2 separate regions of the Homo sapiens genome follow, and region 2 is linked to region 1. Evidence: promoter capture Hi-C in human tissues and cell types (Jung and others, 2019). All regions are on one chromosome and are shown on one strand. The core of a region is centred on a gene start or on the middle of the fragment in contact, and the rest is flanking DNA. Distances in the headings are between cores, read along the strand shown.

Region 1 (7,900 bases), core at 1,862-4,361:
GAGGCAGGAGAATCACTTGAGCCCAGGAGGTGAAGGTTGCAGTGGGCTGAGATTGTGCCACTAGACTCCAGGCTGGACAAGAGAGTGAAACTCCGTCTCAAAAAAAAAAAAAAAAAAAAAAAAAAAAAAGCCTAGCTGTCTCGGCTGGGCGCATTGGTCCATGCCTATAATCCCAGCACTTTGGGAGGCCGAGATGTGACGATCACTTGAGGTCAGGAGTTCGAGACCAGCCTGGCCAACATGGTAAAACCTCGTCTCTACTAAAAATACAAAAATTAGCTGGGCATGATGGTGGGTGCCTGTAATGCCAGCTACCTTGAATGCTGAGGCAGGAGAATTGCTTGAACCTGGGAGGCAGAGGCTCCAGTGAGCCCAAGATTGCGCCATTGCACTCCAGCCTGGGCAACAAGACTGAAATTCCACGTTAAGAAAAAAAAAAGAAAACCTAGCTGTCTCTTTACAAAAAGTGAATCCTGAATCCAGACCCATGTGATTTACCACTTATCTGATCCATTAACCCTCACCTGGATTATGGCAGGAGCCTTATCTCTGACCTTTCTTCCTCTTCCCTCAACCCACAGTCTATGCAACAAGGTCCAGCCAGATGAAGCCTGTAGCCAGGTAGAACTGTGGTAATATCACCTCCTGACTTTGATCCGTTTTATCTCTAAGCATTTCACAACCTGGTAGCAAATCCTGGGTTAATCTTACAAGGGTGTTTACATTGGTTGACAGAAATGGGAATACCTCCATATAACCTGTCATGGACTTGGTATCCTGGCTTCAGAGATTCTCCAGGGTCCTCGGATCAAAGGACTGAAAAAAATGGCACTTAAGAGTCCCAGGACACCACAAGCTAGAGAACCTGTAGATGGCGTCAGGACCAATGAGGGAATGGAACACCCTCCACTTCCCTGTGTGGGTTCCCTAAGTGCTTCTGCAGCCAGGAGTGCCTGAGGGGAAAGGCAGACATTACAAACATGTCACAGGATTTGATAAGCTCAGGACTCCCTGAACCCTTTCTTGTCCCTGGAACCAGGTAACCCTAAGGCTGGTTGTCTGACCTGCTTTTCTCAGTGCAAAATGTCATCTCTACCATCTATGTGATCTACAAAACGGATTCAACCTCCCAAGGCCCCAAAGTCCTCATCCTCTCTCTCTATGATGTTCTTCCTTTGATTGGCCTTTGGGAAACTTCTTAAAAGCCTGGATTTGGATCATGTCCCTCCTTTCTTCAAAACTCTCCATGGCTTCTAGAATCCTCATGATGAATGCACAGCCCCTGGCCTGCTTGCTCTACCAGGAAGAGCTCCATCTCACACGTTGTTCCTGACAGATGCCTGTGAACCCCAGGTTCCATCCTTCCAGCTCTGTCCATCTGCAGGCCATTGCCTGCACCCCTACCTGTGCCTGTCACTCTCCCCACTGCATCCCACTGGTGTCAGAAACAGGTGAAACCGACTTTGCAAAATTATAACTGACGAAATTATGACAGTGAAAGAAATCAGACCTAACCGACTCCATCTTGCTTCCAACCTTTCAGCCGTCTTTTTTCATTCCTGGGCATAGGCTGAATTAACTTTGGAAAAGAATTCAGTTCATGGTTTCACTCTGAAACAAAATTGATAATAGCCCTTTCCTGAAAAGACCCCTTTCTTGCCTGGGGACCAGCCTGTCTTTGCAGGACTAACAAATTAGCTACAAGAATAGAAATTACGGTTTAGGGGTCATGCAGCTTCTGGCTCCAAGAGTCTGAACCTCCCCAAGTTGCTCCTGAAGATAACCTTACTATTGTAAAACCTAATGTGAGTTTCTGGGGTGCTAGTTGAGTTGGTCTCCCCTGTGTGAGACACCCATGGGAAGCCATGGGCGGCCTCTGAGGAGAAAAGTCTCCTTATTGCCTTCATGTCTTTATGCCCCGAGAGCATAACTCTTCAGCAGCATTCCATGGGTTGCTCAGGGAGATCACACTCCCTTGAAGCAGTGGAGCATAATCAAACATCTTGGCTCCTCCTGAAACCCGCAGCCACCCGTTTCAGTTAAGTTAAAGATCTTAAGTAGTTTAGACACACGCCTTTGTTCAAGGAAATTCACAGAAACGGCCAGTGCTTTACATCTTATGGAATGACTCACGAGTTCTCCTTTACTGATTAATCCTTTTCCTGATCGCTTCCTCCCCCTCCAATCAGCCATAAGAACAAAGAGCTTGTAAACCAATAAACTGGGTGGAGCCCAAGAGCTCTGGGCCGCCAGGAAGCCTCCAATGCTCTGGCCACCTGGACCCGCCTTTTAAATGCGTATTCTGTCTCTTTCTAACTCCTTTGTCTCCGCAGGACTCGGGGTATCTGCTGGGTGGTGTGGGGCTGGTTTCCCCAATATCTAAGATCAGTGCTTGGGGCATTTTGCAGATCCTGCACTGGATGGATCAGCGGACAACACACAGACCGGTAATCTGGGTCAATCAGTTCTGCCATCCCACCCAGAACAGAAAACAGCATGAAAAACTCACTTTAACCCCCTATGAATCCATCTCCAACCAGACTGATCAGCACTCCCCACTTCCCAAGCCCCTACCCGCCAAATTTTGAAAACTCTGATCCCAGAATGCTCAGGGAGACTGATTTGAATAATAAAACTCCTGTCTCCCGAACAGCAGGACGGCTCTGCGTGAATTACTATTTCTCCATCGCAATTCCCCAGTCTTCATAAATCGGCTCTGTCTAGGCAGCTGGCAACGTGAACCCACTGGACGGTTACAAGGAGAGGCCTCCTGTGAGCGCCTCAGTGTTCCTACGCCGGGTACCGGCTACAGACCCACGAGCAGGAGCCGCTCCCTCGCTGGTTTAGGACCTGGGTGACGATGGGGTGACCTGAGGGCACAGAAGGCACCACAATTACCTGAGTTGGGCGCCTCGGCACAGCCGCTGCCATCGGACTACTTGGGGAAGCACGGCCCGGGAGCAGTGGTCGCCGTCACGGGGCTGCAGAGCCGCCTCTGGGCACCGAGGACGATTCCTCTCCACCTTCTAGGTTCAGTCACCGCGGTCCCACCCAGCACTCAGGGGCCACAAACTGGGGAAACACCCGCATCGCCGATACACAGCCGCTACTAGAGACCCCGGAAGTCTCGGCCTTACGTTACGTGCACACGTGGAAATGCCTTCTTTCCGAGTGCTCACTGGCTCTGACCGGCTGTCGTTTAAAGCAGAGCTTTCTGGGTAATGTAGTTCCCCACTTTCCATGACACAACATGGTTACCAGGTTCTGAAATGTTCATGGCTCAGATGCACCTCCAAGCCTTTGTACCTATTGGTTCCTCTACCTGTATTACTCTAGCTGGGGTGAAGCCTGTAATACACAGCATTTACCTGAGCTAGGTCCCTCAGTGTGGCTGCTGCCATCAACTGTGGGTGGAGCAGGCATCACCCCAGCCAGTGCCTATGAGCCTCAGACCTGCCACTTGGGAGCAGAGATGACTACTCCTCTTGTGCCTTCTCAGTCCCAACCCAGTACTCCCTGGCCTGACAAGCATGCCCAGAAATCCCTCATCCTGGGCCTTGCAACTAGCGCCTTCTGGGTAAAGTACTTCCCAGAGCTCTCAGCCAACAATGGTGGTATCCTCCAAGAGCAAACCGAATGCAGACCATGTTACATTCTGAGGGCTGCTGGAAAGCCCTGCTCACACCTCAAAGGAGGAAGATTATTGATTCTTTGTAAAAGCATCAAATAGGTATCACATCAGACTCTAGGAAGCTCATCCTGCACCCAGAGAATAAAAATACTATTTGAGATGCTCCCAAACTTTACTTATCTAAGTGGCCATATCATTGGCATCATTCAGACTTACAATGTGTGCACTCAGAGCTGAGAACATTAAGTATTGATTGCTCTTTAAATTCACGTAGACTGAATCATTACAGTCAGTTTTGCGAGTTTCATTGTTTTGTTGGGAACAAAAGAAAATTCTCCATAAGACATGATGACAGGATGGGTACAAAAAACAGTGAGCAAAAATGAATAAGACCTAATATTTGCTACCATAACAGGGTGGCTATAGTCAAAATAATTTAATTATATATTTAAAAATAACTAAAAGAGTATAACTGGACTGTTTATAATACAGAGGATAAATGTTGAGGTGACTGAGACCCCATTTACCCTATGTGATTATCACATATGGCATGGCTACATCAAAATATCTAATGTAATCTACAAATATATACACTACTATATACCCACAAAAAATAAAAATAAAGGCCAGACATGGTGGCTCACACCTGTAATCCCAGCACTTTGGGAGGCCAAGGCAGGTGGATCACCTGAGGTCGGGAGTTCGAGACCAGCCTGGCCAACATGGAGAAACCGTGTCTCTACTGAAAGTACAAAATTTTCCAGGCATGGTGCTGCATGCCTCCAATTCCAGCTACTCGGGAGGCTGAGGTAGGAGAATTACTTGAACCCTGGAGGTGGAGGTTGCGATGAGTCGAGATCATGCCATTGCACTCCAGCCTGGGCAACAGGAGTGAGACTCTGTCTCAAAAAAAATAAAAAATAAAAAATAAATAAATTGCTGGGTGCAGTGGCTCATGCCTATAATCCCAACACTTTGGGAGGCTGAGTCAGGTGGATCATGAGGTCAGGAGTTCGAGACCAGCCTGACCAATATGGTGAAACCCCATCTCTAATAAAAATAAAAAAATTAGCCGGGCACGGTTGCTCACGCCTGTAATCCCAGCACTTTGGGAGGCCGAGGTGGACAGATCATGAAGTCAGGAGATCAAGACCATCCTGGCTAACACAGCAAAACCCATGTTAAAAAAATTGCTGGGCATGGTGGCAGACACCTGTAGTCCCAGCTACTCGGGAGGCTGAGGCAGGAGAATCGCCTGAACTCTGGAGGCAGAGGTTGCAATGAGCTGAGATCGCATGACTGCACTCCAGCCTGGCGACAGAGCTAGACTCCGTCTCAAAAAAATAAAATAATAATAAAGATCTAATGACAGGGAAATAGACGGATGTTGGTACACCCTGAAGCAGGTAGTGAAGCTGGCAGTTGGCCACTGGTTCCCACAGAAAATTGCTCTAGTGATGCTAGCAAATCCCAAAATTGGGGCTCAATCCAGGAGGGTTCCTGGCTTCATAAAGGAAATAATTCAAGAGCAAGCCAAGAGTGTAAAGTGAAGGCAAAGCAAGTTTATGAGAGCAAGAGAACAGGAAAATGGCTGCTCCACAGACAGAGCAGGGCTACTCCACAGGCAAAGTAGCACCCGTGGATTGTTGGCTAGCTATATTTATAGCTACTCCTTAATTATGTGCTAAATAAGAGGTGGGTTATTCATGAATTTTCTAGAAAAAGAGTGGGGAGTTCCCAGAACCAGGGGTTCCTTCTCTTTTAAACTACATGAGGTAGCTTCTGGGCATTGCCATAGCATTTGTAAACGGCCATGGTGCTGGTGGGAGTGTCTTTTAGCATGCTAATACATTATAATGAGCATATAATGAGCAGTGAGGCAATGAGGGTAACTAGAGTTCATATTCTTGCCATCTTAGTTTTACTGCTTTCAGCTGGTTTCTTTAGTGCATCCTGTTTTGACCAGATCCTGTTTCATCATGAGCAGGGTCATGACCAGTGCTCAGAACACAAGTCCTGCTGATCTATGTCACTATGAGGATCACTATGTCAATATGTTTCTTAATTCATATGCTAAGGTGTACTCAATTTCTTTAATCACATTGACATCTATCTCAAAGGACGAGCAACTTAGCCAATGCCATTGTGGTACACACATCAGTCGCTACAACTTTCACCATTAAAGCACAGGTTAAAAAGGCCATCTGAATAACAATATAAACACGGCATCTGAGCTCCAAAATTTCATCTCCTTACAAGAAAGTGGTTATTATTTTCCAGTGACTGCAGGAATAGTTTCACACTGGGAACTGGGATTATCTCAGAATAAATTTTTTTTTTTCTTTTTTGAAACAGAGTCTCACTCTGTTGCGCAGGCTGGAGTGCAGTGGTGTGATCTCAGCTCACTGTAACCTCTGCCTCCTGGGTTCAAGTGATTCTCCTGCCTCAGCCTCCTGAGTGAGTAGCTGGGATTACAGGCATGCGCCACCATGCCTGGCTAATTTCTGTATTTTTAGTACAGATGGGGATTCACCATGTTGGCCAGCCTGGTCTCAAACTCCTGACCTCAAGTGATCCACCCACCTGCGCTTCCCAAAGTGCTGGGATTATAGGCGTGAGCCATCGTGCCTGGCCTCAGAATCAATTACAGGTGCGGTGGCTCATGGCTCAGGCCTGTAATCTGAGCACTTTTGTAGGCCAATGCAGGCAGATCACTTGAGGCCCAGAGTTTGAGATGAACCCGGTAACACAGTGAAACCCCATCTCTACTAAAAATACAAAAAACAGCTGGGCATGATGGCTTACGCATGTAATCCCAGCTACGTGGGAGGCTGAGGTGGGAGACTCACTTGAACCTGGGAGGTGGAGGTTGCAATGAGCCAAAATCACACCACTGCACTCCAACCTGGTAGAGAGTCTTGAAAAAAAAAAAAAAAAAAAGTATGCAGCAACTAAAATATCCATAAATGGATGGATGAATGAATGAATATACAATGACATTTCACGGCAGACTATACTTCTCAGCAACATAAAACGAATGAACAACTCATATATCTACAATGACATCAAAATAAGCATGATGCAGGAGAGCACCCAGGGATTATAAGAGGAAACACTTTATTACATCAGTCAGAAAATTCCAGAAAATGGAAAGTACTCCATCATACAGCAAAGTAAATCAATGGTTGTTTGAAGAGCAGAGAGAAAAACTTTATAAAGGCTCCAAGTAAATACAAAGGTGATAGATTAGATAAATTCATTATGGTGACTCTGATGATGGTTTCACGGGATTATAATAAAATTCAAGACTTATCCTACAGCTCAAATATGTGTACTTTATTGGATGTCATTTATATCTTTATTTTATTTTTAAGATGGGGTCTCACTCTATCACCCAGGCTGGACTGCAGCGTTGCAATCTTAGCTCACTGCAACTTCTGCCTCCCAGGCTCAAGCAATCCTCCCACATCACTAAGACTAAGGTACATGCCACCATACCTGGCTATTTTTCCTAGAGACAAGGTTTTGCCATGTTCCCCACACTGGTCTCAAGGAATCTGGCCTCCCAAAGTGCTGGGAATACAGGCATGAGCCATGATGCTCAGCCTATACCTTATTACAGCTTTTATAACACGGTTTAAGAGAAAAATACAGATTTGCCATCATTTTTGGTGACAGGTTTGGCAATTTTATGTTGACTTTACCAATTCTTCTCATGCCCTAAGTGGGGAAACTAGCCTCCATAGAAGCAAATATTGATGTAGCAGGAAGGTCATTTCTACCTGATTGAACTGGATCACTGGCTGGTCACAAAGCTACATCACTGAACTGAGATCTTTTTCCCTATTCTGTTCCTCCTGTTAATACAGGAGTTACCTTAAGGTGAGCAGCCCAAAAGGTTACATGAATTCACAAAACCTTTAGATTATTTCCTCTGACCAAAGCTTAGCTACACAACATTCATTATTATGGAAGTCTTGAGAATTTCTGTATCTGCTTATCCATCACAGACACAGTGACTGGATAACTGTGGACACTCCTTTAAAAGACATACATTTCAGCCAAACACAGCGGCCCACACCTGTAGTCCCAGCACTTTGGAAGGCGGAGGTGAGCAGATCACCTGAGCTCAAGAGTTGAATTCAAGACCAGTCTGTGCAACACGGTGAAACCCGTCTCTACTAAAACCACAAAACATTAGTGGTGTGGTGGCATGCACCTGTAATTCTAGCTACTTGGGTGACTGAGGTGGGAGAATCGCTTGAACCC
Region 2 (7,900 bases), core at 2,717-5,216, 98 kb before region 1:
TCTTGTGATATAACCTTGAACCTTACTGCAGAATCTTTTCTTCTCATTAGTCTTAAAATACAGCCTTGAAATGTACTTTCTTTGAAATACCATGTCCACCGCTTCTCACCATACACTCCCTTAGACCATGCACATTTGTCTAATTGTATGCTAGTATCTAATTATGTGCTTACTTAGAAGTTCCTGGGGATAATCTTGAGACAGACTTGGTAGGCATAGGGACCTATCTGCAAAATTCCAGAGATTACTTCAAGGCAGTTAGTCAACCACCAGGCCATTACTGAGATGCAGCTAGCCCACACTCCAGGTGGACCATGGCTTGAGACAGCCACCAGAACAAGACACGCAGACCTAGTACTCAGCACCCCTCCTGCACACCTCCCAGTCCAAGTTCACATCCTTGGACTCAAAAACTCCGTTTTGAGCGAAACTCCGTCTCAAAAAACAAACAAAAACCAAAACAAAAGAGTTCTGTGAGACCTTCACTTTTTTCACCATCCGATATTTCCCAAACACGATTCTGCCACCATTTTTGAATGACTACATAGTCATTATAATGGCAGCAGTGGCTGATCTGGAGGGGCCGCTGTGATGATGCCGGCTGCAAATGGGGAGGCACGGCCAGGGCTGCATGCTCCGTGGAGCCCACGGGGACTGGGAACAGGTGATCCCAGTGGGAGCCTCGAGCCATACCGAGTTGTCAGGACGGGAGCCCTGTGCTCCCAGGCGCAGCTGCAGCCACCTAGTCGTGGCTCCAGACAGGGCATCCCTGCACTCTTGGGGACCTGGGAAGCACCCTTTTCCCACAGGCCCAGAAGTGCCTGCTCCCACTCCCTGGCCTCTCCCCACTCTCAGCACCTGCTCCACGGCAGAGCAAAGTTGTGGACATGTCAAGATAGCCAAACCTGGGCGCTATCACAACCCAGCCAAATGTGTGTGCCCTCGGGGCAGTGACGACATGCCAGCCCCCCACCATCTCGATTTCCTCCAGAAACTGCTTTTGAGGCTGAAACTTTGGGCACCAAGAAGCATGGGAAGGAGGCCGGGTGGTGGGAGGGGGGCGGCTGAGAGTGGCTCGGGGCAGGCCTGCGGGCAACCTTCAGCATGGACAGCCTGGGCGTCATGGACAGCATGTTGATGGCCATGAAAGGCAGACAGGTTCCTACGTGGGAAGGGGTGGGTTTTCTGTGAAACCCCACCTTCAAGCCACGAATGGCCTGAAGCCTGGAGGCCACGCTGCCAGTTCCAGGTGGAGTCTGTGACCCAGAGAGAGAAATTCCTTGACGCCTTTCGGCCAATGGTATGGTGTTTTTCCCAGGCCCGCCCATGACTGCCCATGGGCCAATCAGCATGCACTTCCTACCACCCATGGACCAATGAGCACACACTTTCTCCATTCTGAGCCCATAAAAAACCTGTAGACTCAGCCAGACTCAGACATCGGAGACTATCTGTATGCAGGTGTGAGCTACTCCCTTCAGGTTTCCTGAGGGCTGTTGGGTTGTCCAATAAAACCCTTCTCTGCCTTGCTCACCCTCCAGTTGTCTGCATAACCTCATTCTTCCTGGACGTGGGATAAGAACTTGGGGGACAAGAACTTGGGACCTAACGAACAGCAGGAGAGAAAGGGGCTGTAACACATTCCTGGCTGAGTAGCCATGCTTCTGGGCTGCATGAGTGAAAAATGGCGACTCTTCTGGAGGCCCAGACTTTGGGATTCCCCGAGCCAGAGCTGTAACACTATAGCCCTCCTGCCCTCAGCCAGCACTGGGTGGCCGCCCCCCACGATGGGAAGCAGCAGCGAGCCAGAGCAGGGCAGCGGGACTGAAAGAGCTATATCACAAACAAGCTGAAAACACACCCCACCCAAAACACACCTCCCCGCTTGCCAGGCTGCAAGCAACGGGAAGGAGAGAAGAGCTGTGGCTCTTCCGGGAGCCCAGGCCTCGAGACTCCGGAGCCAGGGCTGTGACATGCTGCAACACCCTCTTTGGGGTTCTGCTGTTCTTGGTGTCTCCGAGCTTTCCGGCGCCACCATTTTTCCCTCGTCTAGATGCTGGTGCCTGCAGCAGAAGCCGCCTGCAGTATGTCTGGTCCAGTCGCAGACTTGCAAGGAGCCGGCGCCTGTGCCAGCGCCTGGAGCTGCCCGCCCCGCCGCAGCAGCCAGCGTGCCTGGCTGTGTGCACTGGCTGGACCCTTCACTTGCTCGCTCACACACCCCTTGCGGCTCCGCGCCTGGCTCGCCCTTGGTAGGTGTGGGATCCAGGTGCAGCCTGCTGGGCCGAGTGGGTGGAACAAGCCCAGCGGGTGTGAGCAAAACTCAAGCAGAGGCGCGACCACAGAGGTTTCTGGCTGGCGAAGCGACACCCATTATTAGTAGCTTTCTGTAATTTGTATTTTACAATTCTTTTTCTGATATCGTATCAATTTTTTATGCAGAACAGCCCTATAATAATGGGGGCAAAGGGCCGGGCACAGTGGCTCACGCCTGTAATCCCAGCACTTTGGGAGGCCGAGGTGGGTGGATCACCTGAGGTCAGGAGTTCGAGACCAGCCTGGCCAATATGGCGAAACTCCGTCTCTACTAAAAATACAAATACAAAAAAAAAAAAAAAAAAAAAAGATTAGCCGGGTACGGTGGCGGGCGCCTGTAATTCCAGCTACTTGGGAAGCTGAGGCAGGAGAATCGCTTGAACCCGGGAGACAGAGGTTGTGGTGAGCCGAGATCGCACCATTGCACTCCAGCCTGGGCAACAAGAGCGTAACTAATGGGGGCAAAGATAATCATTTCAGCGTTGAGAAGAGATCTTGAATTTAAGATACACCCTACATTTGGGATTCAGAGCACCCTTTGTTCCACCTGTTAATGCTCTAGCTAGCCATCATGCCTTTTCAAAATACCATTCCTTTTGTTGTTCTCTTTCTGAGCTTGATGTCAAATTATTAAAAAGAAGTGAATATAAAGGCATGGAGAAAGTGAGATTAGATTCATGCAAGTGTTGCTTAGTGAATTGGACACAATGTTTGACTACACAGGCACGAGAGGGACCCAGAGACAGGGATCTACTTATGTCCTGCTGCTGCAGGGTGCCTCCGCATCCCACCTTCATCCTCTTTGTCATGAACCTGTGTGGAGTGTTTTTTTTCTTGTCCCTAATCAAACATACAGAGACTGAGAAAACTGACTCCAGTGCTTGAGTGCATGCGTTTGAATTGCAACATAGTCTTTTTTTTTTTTTTTTTTTTTTTTTTTTTTTGAGACAGTGGCTCGCTCTTTCCCCCAGGCTGGAGTGCAGTGGCGCGATCTCGGCTCACTGCAAGCTCTGCCTCCCGGGTTCAAGCTATTTTCCTGCCTCAGCCTCCGGAGTAGCTGGGGACTACAGGCGCCCGCCACCACACCCAGCTAATTTTTCTTTTTTTTTTTTTTTTTGTGGTATTTTTTGTATTTTAGAGACGGGGTTTCGCTGAGTTAGCCAGGATGGTCTCGATCTCCTGACCTCGTGATCCGCCCGCCTCGACCTCCCAAAGTGCTGGAATTACAGGCGTGAGCCACCGCGCCCGGCCGCAACATAGTCATATTTATTTGCTTTCTCAACCAGTGGATATATTTTGTGACTGACTGACTGTATGTAATAATATGTGCATCTGGATATGTGCCTCTGGGAACACATGAAATGACACGTCTCCAAACAAACACTGGCAGACAGCAATCGGTAGAAACCTGGGTACGTCTCCTTTAAGAAAGAACGAAGCCTCGCCTCCGCCCCAACCTGGAGTGTCCATTTCCCAGCGCCCCCTACAGGGGTTTGGCCTTTACTTCCGGAAGGAGGTGGAGGCGACCCTCACTCTCCCGCCGTGCGCCTGTGGGAACATTACCCAGAATGGCCTGCGTTGGGCGACGGCGACCTTCAGCCAATGAGGCCTCCGAAAGGTGGTGTTTCCGTAAGCGCACGCGCGGTCGCGGCGGGACTTCCGTTGTCCTCCTTGTGGCGGTCGTTTTGGCATTTGTCTGGACTGATTACTTGGTAGAAAGCCCCGGAGCGCTGGGTCAGCATCATCCGTGACTGACTGAGAAGGCGCGAGAGGAGTCTTCCCCGCTGCACAGAGGCGTGGCTGAGGCTCGGCGGCGCCCAGGGTACCCAGGCCCGGCCCGGAATAAGGACATCCTCTCTGGCCCCGCTCCGCTCACAGAGTCAGATGGCGGCGGCCGAGCTGACGGCCCCGGCCCAGGTATGTGCCGCGTCCTCTGGGCCTTCCCCGCCCTCCCCACGCTAGTCCTAGCACCCCCGAGGGCGCTTGCTCGCGGCCCTGCTGCCCAGGACAGGACACGGGGGCTCGCCGGAGGGGCTCCCGTTTCCAACACCTGGTGTGCTAGGGAAGGGAGGGCGCGACTGGCAAGGAGCCCCTGATGAGAGGCGCCACTGAGCCCTGGGGCACAGAGGTGACACAGCCATTGCGAGGGCACCCGGCTCCAAGGCCAGGCATGGGGCTACGGGGTGGCTTGAGCCCATCTAATACCGCCATAGATGCTCTTCTCTGAGGCCTGGCTCTTTCTACGTTTCCCTTGGCTGTAAAGGGTTATGAAATCTACGCCAGGAAGGGGAGGGTTTCCCAGTCTCTCACTAGCCCTAACTCCCACCCACAGGTTCTCTGGGTTGTGGAGTGCCATTCCCCCAGCCCTTAGTTCTGAAGACCTTGGGTGAACCCCAAGCCCAGGGTCCTATGTCCATGTTAGCCGGTATATAGAGTTGTTCCAATTTCTGGCAGCCATGTGAACGGGTGTGGAAAGTTTTTCCAGAAAGGTACAAGATGTGCAAATGCTTAGGTGCAGTACGGAGCTGGGTGCATTTATGAAGCCACAAGTCTCCTTGCTTTCTGGTGGGAAGCAAAGAACAGGAGGATAGGCGTCAGGACTGCAGTGGCTGCCTGAGAAGTTGAGTGTGTTTTCAGGAGGTAATAGCAAGTTTGAATCAGAAAAAAGAGGTAATTTACCAAGGTCTTCACAGGCTTCATCTGTGTGCACAGTGGGGCACAAACTGGGGGGTTGAGGGAGGAGGAAGGAAAATCAGGGTAGACTAGTCCAAGTGAGGGTTACTGGCCCAGGATCGTGATTTAGGAGATGTGGTTAGATTCCGGATGTGTGGTTTCAAAAGGGACAACTAAATTACATAATGTAGGTGGTGAGGGAGTGAAACAGAGGGTTCAGAGAAGACTCCAGGGTTTTTGGTATTAGCAGCTGTAGGGAAAGAAGTTTCATCAACTAAGATGAACAAATTGGCAATAGGAGTAATATTCACTAGGGATATCAGGTTTGTTTATGCCATGCTAAGAGTCAGATCTTTCAGAGCCTACTAAATGGAGGCGTTAAGTGGGCAGATGAACGTGCCGGTCTTGAAATCTAGGGAGTGGTTCAGGGTGCAGATATTCAAGATGTGGCTGTTGTGCGCACCAAGGTTAGTGAGCTGTGGGTCACAGTTAGGCGGGGCAAGCTCCAGGTTTTGGTTGTAAAGCTGTTAGTGGGCCAAGACTGGGAGGATGATGATAGAGTAAGTGGTCATGAAGGCAAGGTATGTAAAAGACAGTGTAGTTTGGCAGTGGCCACGGCTCCCAAGAGAAGAATGGACATGAGATGGATGCAAACGCATAGGACACTCAGGCCAAAACTCGTGCTTATTCACCACTTTATGGGTATCCAGGATTTTGTGATAACTTGATGGGGCCTGGGTGTTTCATTCAGGCTGGAAGATTAAGTTAGTGTCATGTGGTCATTTGTGAGAGTCATTGTGTGTGAGATGAACGACCAGTGAGGCTGGGATTTAAATGAGCTTTAGGTGGATATATGACTCTCAAGGGGATGGTAAGTGCAGCACAGAAGTGGAATAGGGCCATGGTTATCTGTGATTCACCTGTGGTTCTGTGTGGCTATGTCTGAGGCAAGGAATACAGCCTGGCAGGGAGGCCTTCAAAGAAATTTTTGAGGCTGCTTCCACTAGTGTAAGCTGTGGGAAGTCTGGGATTTTGGATCCTGTTTATATCCACACTCTGGATGCTGCCTGCCAAGTTGCGGTATAAGGCCGGAAATTAAGGCCCAGTATGATATGTCGCCTTGACATCTGATGAAAACGATACAGCCTTAGATGGCCTGAGAACAAATTCCCCTTCCCACTTTGCTCCCATGAATAAGCTCTCTTAGCCAAATGAACCCTTCTTATCCATTCTTATCCAGGGAACCAGAACAGTTCCTGCTTATTACTTTGTAGTGGGTTTCAGTTCCCTATCAATTTTTTGAGTTATTCAAACAAGCCAGTCCCCTCCTCTGGGGACCAGTGGAGCTTCTCCATCTTGATGCTACAAAACTTACATTCTACAGCACCTGGTTGTTACTCTTTTCTGGAGTACTACCTCCGTATGGCCCTGTGTGGAGTGTGGTATTCTTTCACAGGCTATGAGTATTTGTCTTTAATTAATAAGCTGTTCAGCCAGGCGTGGTGGCTCACGCCTGTAATCCCAGCACTTTGGGAGGCCGAGGCGGGCAGCTCACAAGGTCAGGAGATCAAGACCATCCTGGCTAACACGGTGAAACCCCTTCTCTACTAAAAATATAAAAAATTAGCCAGGCGTGATGGCGGGTGCCTGTAGTCCCAGCTACTTGGGAGGCTAAGGTAGGAGAATGGCATGAACCCAGGAGGTGGAGCTTGCCCCACTGCACTCCAGCCTGGGCGACAGAGCAAGATTTCGTCTCAAAAAAAAAAAAAAAATTAATAAACTGTTGATCTCATTTGTCCAATGTCACGTGTCTTATATTTGGCTGTTGGTTATCCACTCTTTTTTTTTGTTCTTTGAGACGCAGTCTCGCTGTGTCACCACGCTGGAGTGCAGTGGCGTGATCTCGGCTCATTGCAACCTCCACCTCTCCACCTCCTGGGTTCTAGTGATTCTCCTGCCTCAGCCTCCTGAGTAGCTGGTACTACAGCCGTGTGCCACCACGCCTGGCTGATCTTTTGTATTTTTAGTAGAGATGGGGTTTCACCCTGTTAGCCAGGATGGTCTCCATCTCTTGACCTCGTGATCCGCCCACCTCGGCCTCCCAAAGTGCTGGGATTACAGGCATGAGCCACTGCACCCGGCCCAGGTTATCTACTCTTTCACTCAGGTAGCATGTGGGGAAGCCAGGATTTGCCTGTGGTATAGGACGTAGTGGTGGTCATGGTCATGTGGCAGTGGGATCTGGAGACCTGAGGTATGTGCAGTGTAATGAATGATATGCACTTGGAGAGGGAGTGTGCCTGATGGCCCCAGTGTCCTGATTGAGACTTACATGACCTTGGTCATATGAGAGGAATGCTTGTCAGGAAGGAGTGGTTGCCCTTATGCCACGCCCACAGCTTAGATACATGTATTTGTTCACCTGCCTCTTGTTACTGATGGCTGCAACCAGTGACCAAGAGCCCCATTAGGAGACAACAGCACCAGCTGACTGCTTTCTCCTCTGAGCTGGGGAGCTTGGAGAGCTTGGAAAGAGGATGAGCATGGGGTAAATGTGTGAGGGGAAGGATTATGGATCCTGAGAGGAGGAACCGTTTGTGGTTTCATGTGTCCCCATCCTGGCAGGGCATTGTGACCTTTGAGGACGTGGCTGTTTACTTCTCCTGGAAGGAGTGGGGTCTTCTTGATGAGGCTCAGAAATGCCTGTACCACGATGTGATGCTGGAGAACTTGACACTTACAACCTCCCTGGGTAAGGTCCTCACACCCACCTCTATGCCCCGAGCTAGCCTTTGCTCTTACCCTTTCCCCAGAGTCAGATGTGTCTTCACAAGAGGACTATTGACACAGCTTCCTGTTCCTGGGCAGGTGCTGCGGTTGGTAGGGCTAAGGTTGTATGTTGCCTGCTTTTCTC

The links. Contacts are between HindIII fragments. The study calls those that stand out against the background at their distance.
Region 2: the fragment with the promoter of ZNF256 here is called in contact with the fragment with the promoter of ZNF587 in region 1 in 1 of the 25 tissues and cell types used here (stomach).

The regions. Positions count from the first base shown.
Region 1 is chr19:57,845,070-57,852,969 of GRCh38, reverse strand. It overlaps ZNF587 (zinc finger protein 587), which reads right to left and starts at 3,111. Exons shown (of 3, transcript NM_032828.4): 1 at 2,899-3,111. The coding sequence starts at 2,931. It overlaps LOC124904782 (a long non-coding RNA gene), which reads left to right. Exons shown (of 2, transcript XR_007067358.1): 2 at 2,409-2,655. It overlaps ZNF587B (zinc finger protein 587B), which reads right to left. Exons shown (of 3, transcript NM_001376223.1): 3 at 6,732-7,900. RefSeq lists enhancers at 1,470-2,669, 2,724-2,813, 2,864-3,103, 3,274-3,333, 3,404-3,513. The HindIII fragment of the contact is 32,917 bases long and covers 1-7,900 here.
Region 2 is chr19:57,943,772-57,951,671 of GRCh38, reverse strand. It overlaps ZNF256 (zinc finger protein 256), which reads left to right and starts at 3,966. Exons shown (of 3, transcript NM_005773.3): 1 at 3,966-4,230; 2 at 7,612-7,738. The coding sequence starts at 4,198. RefSeq lists enhancers at 3,728-3,817, 3,888-3,987, 4,478-4,557. The HindIII fragment of the contact is 18,689 bases long and covers 1-7,900 here.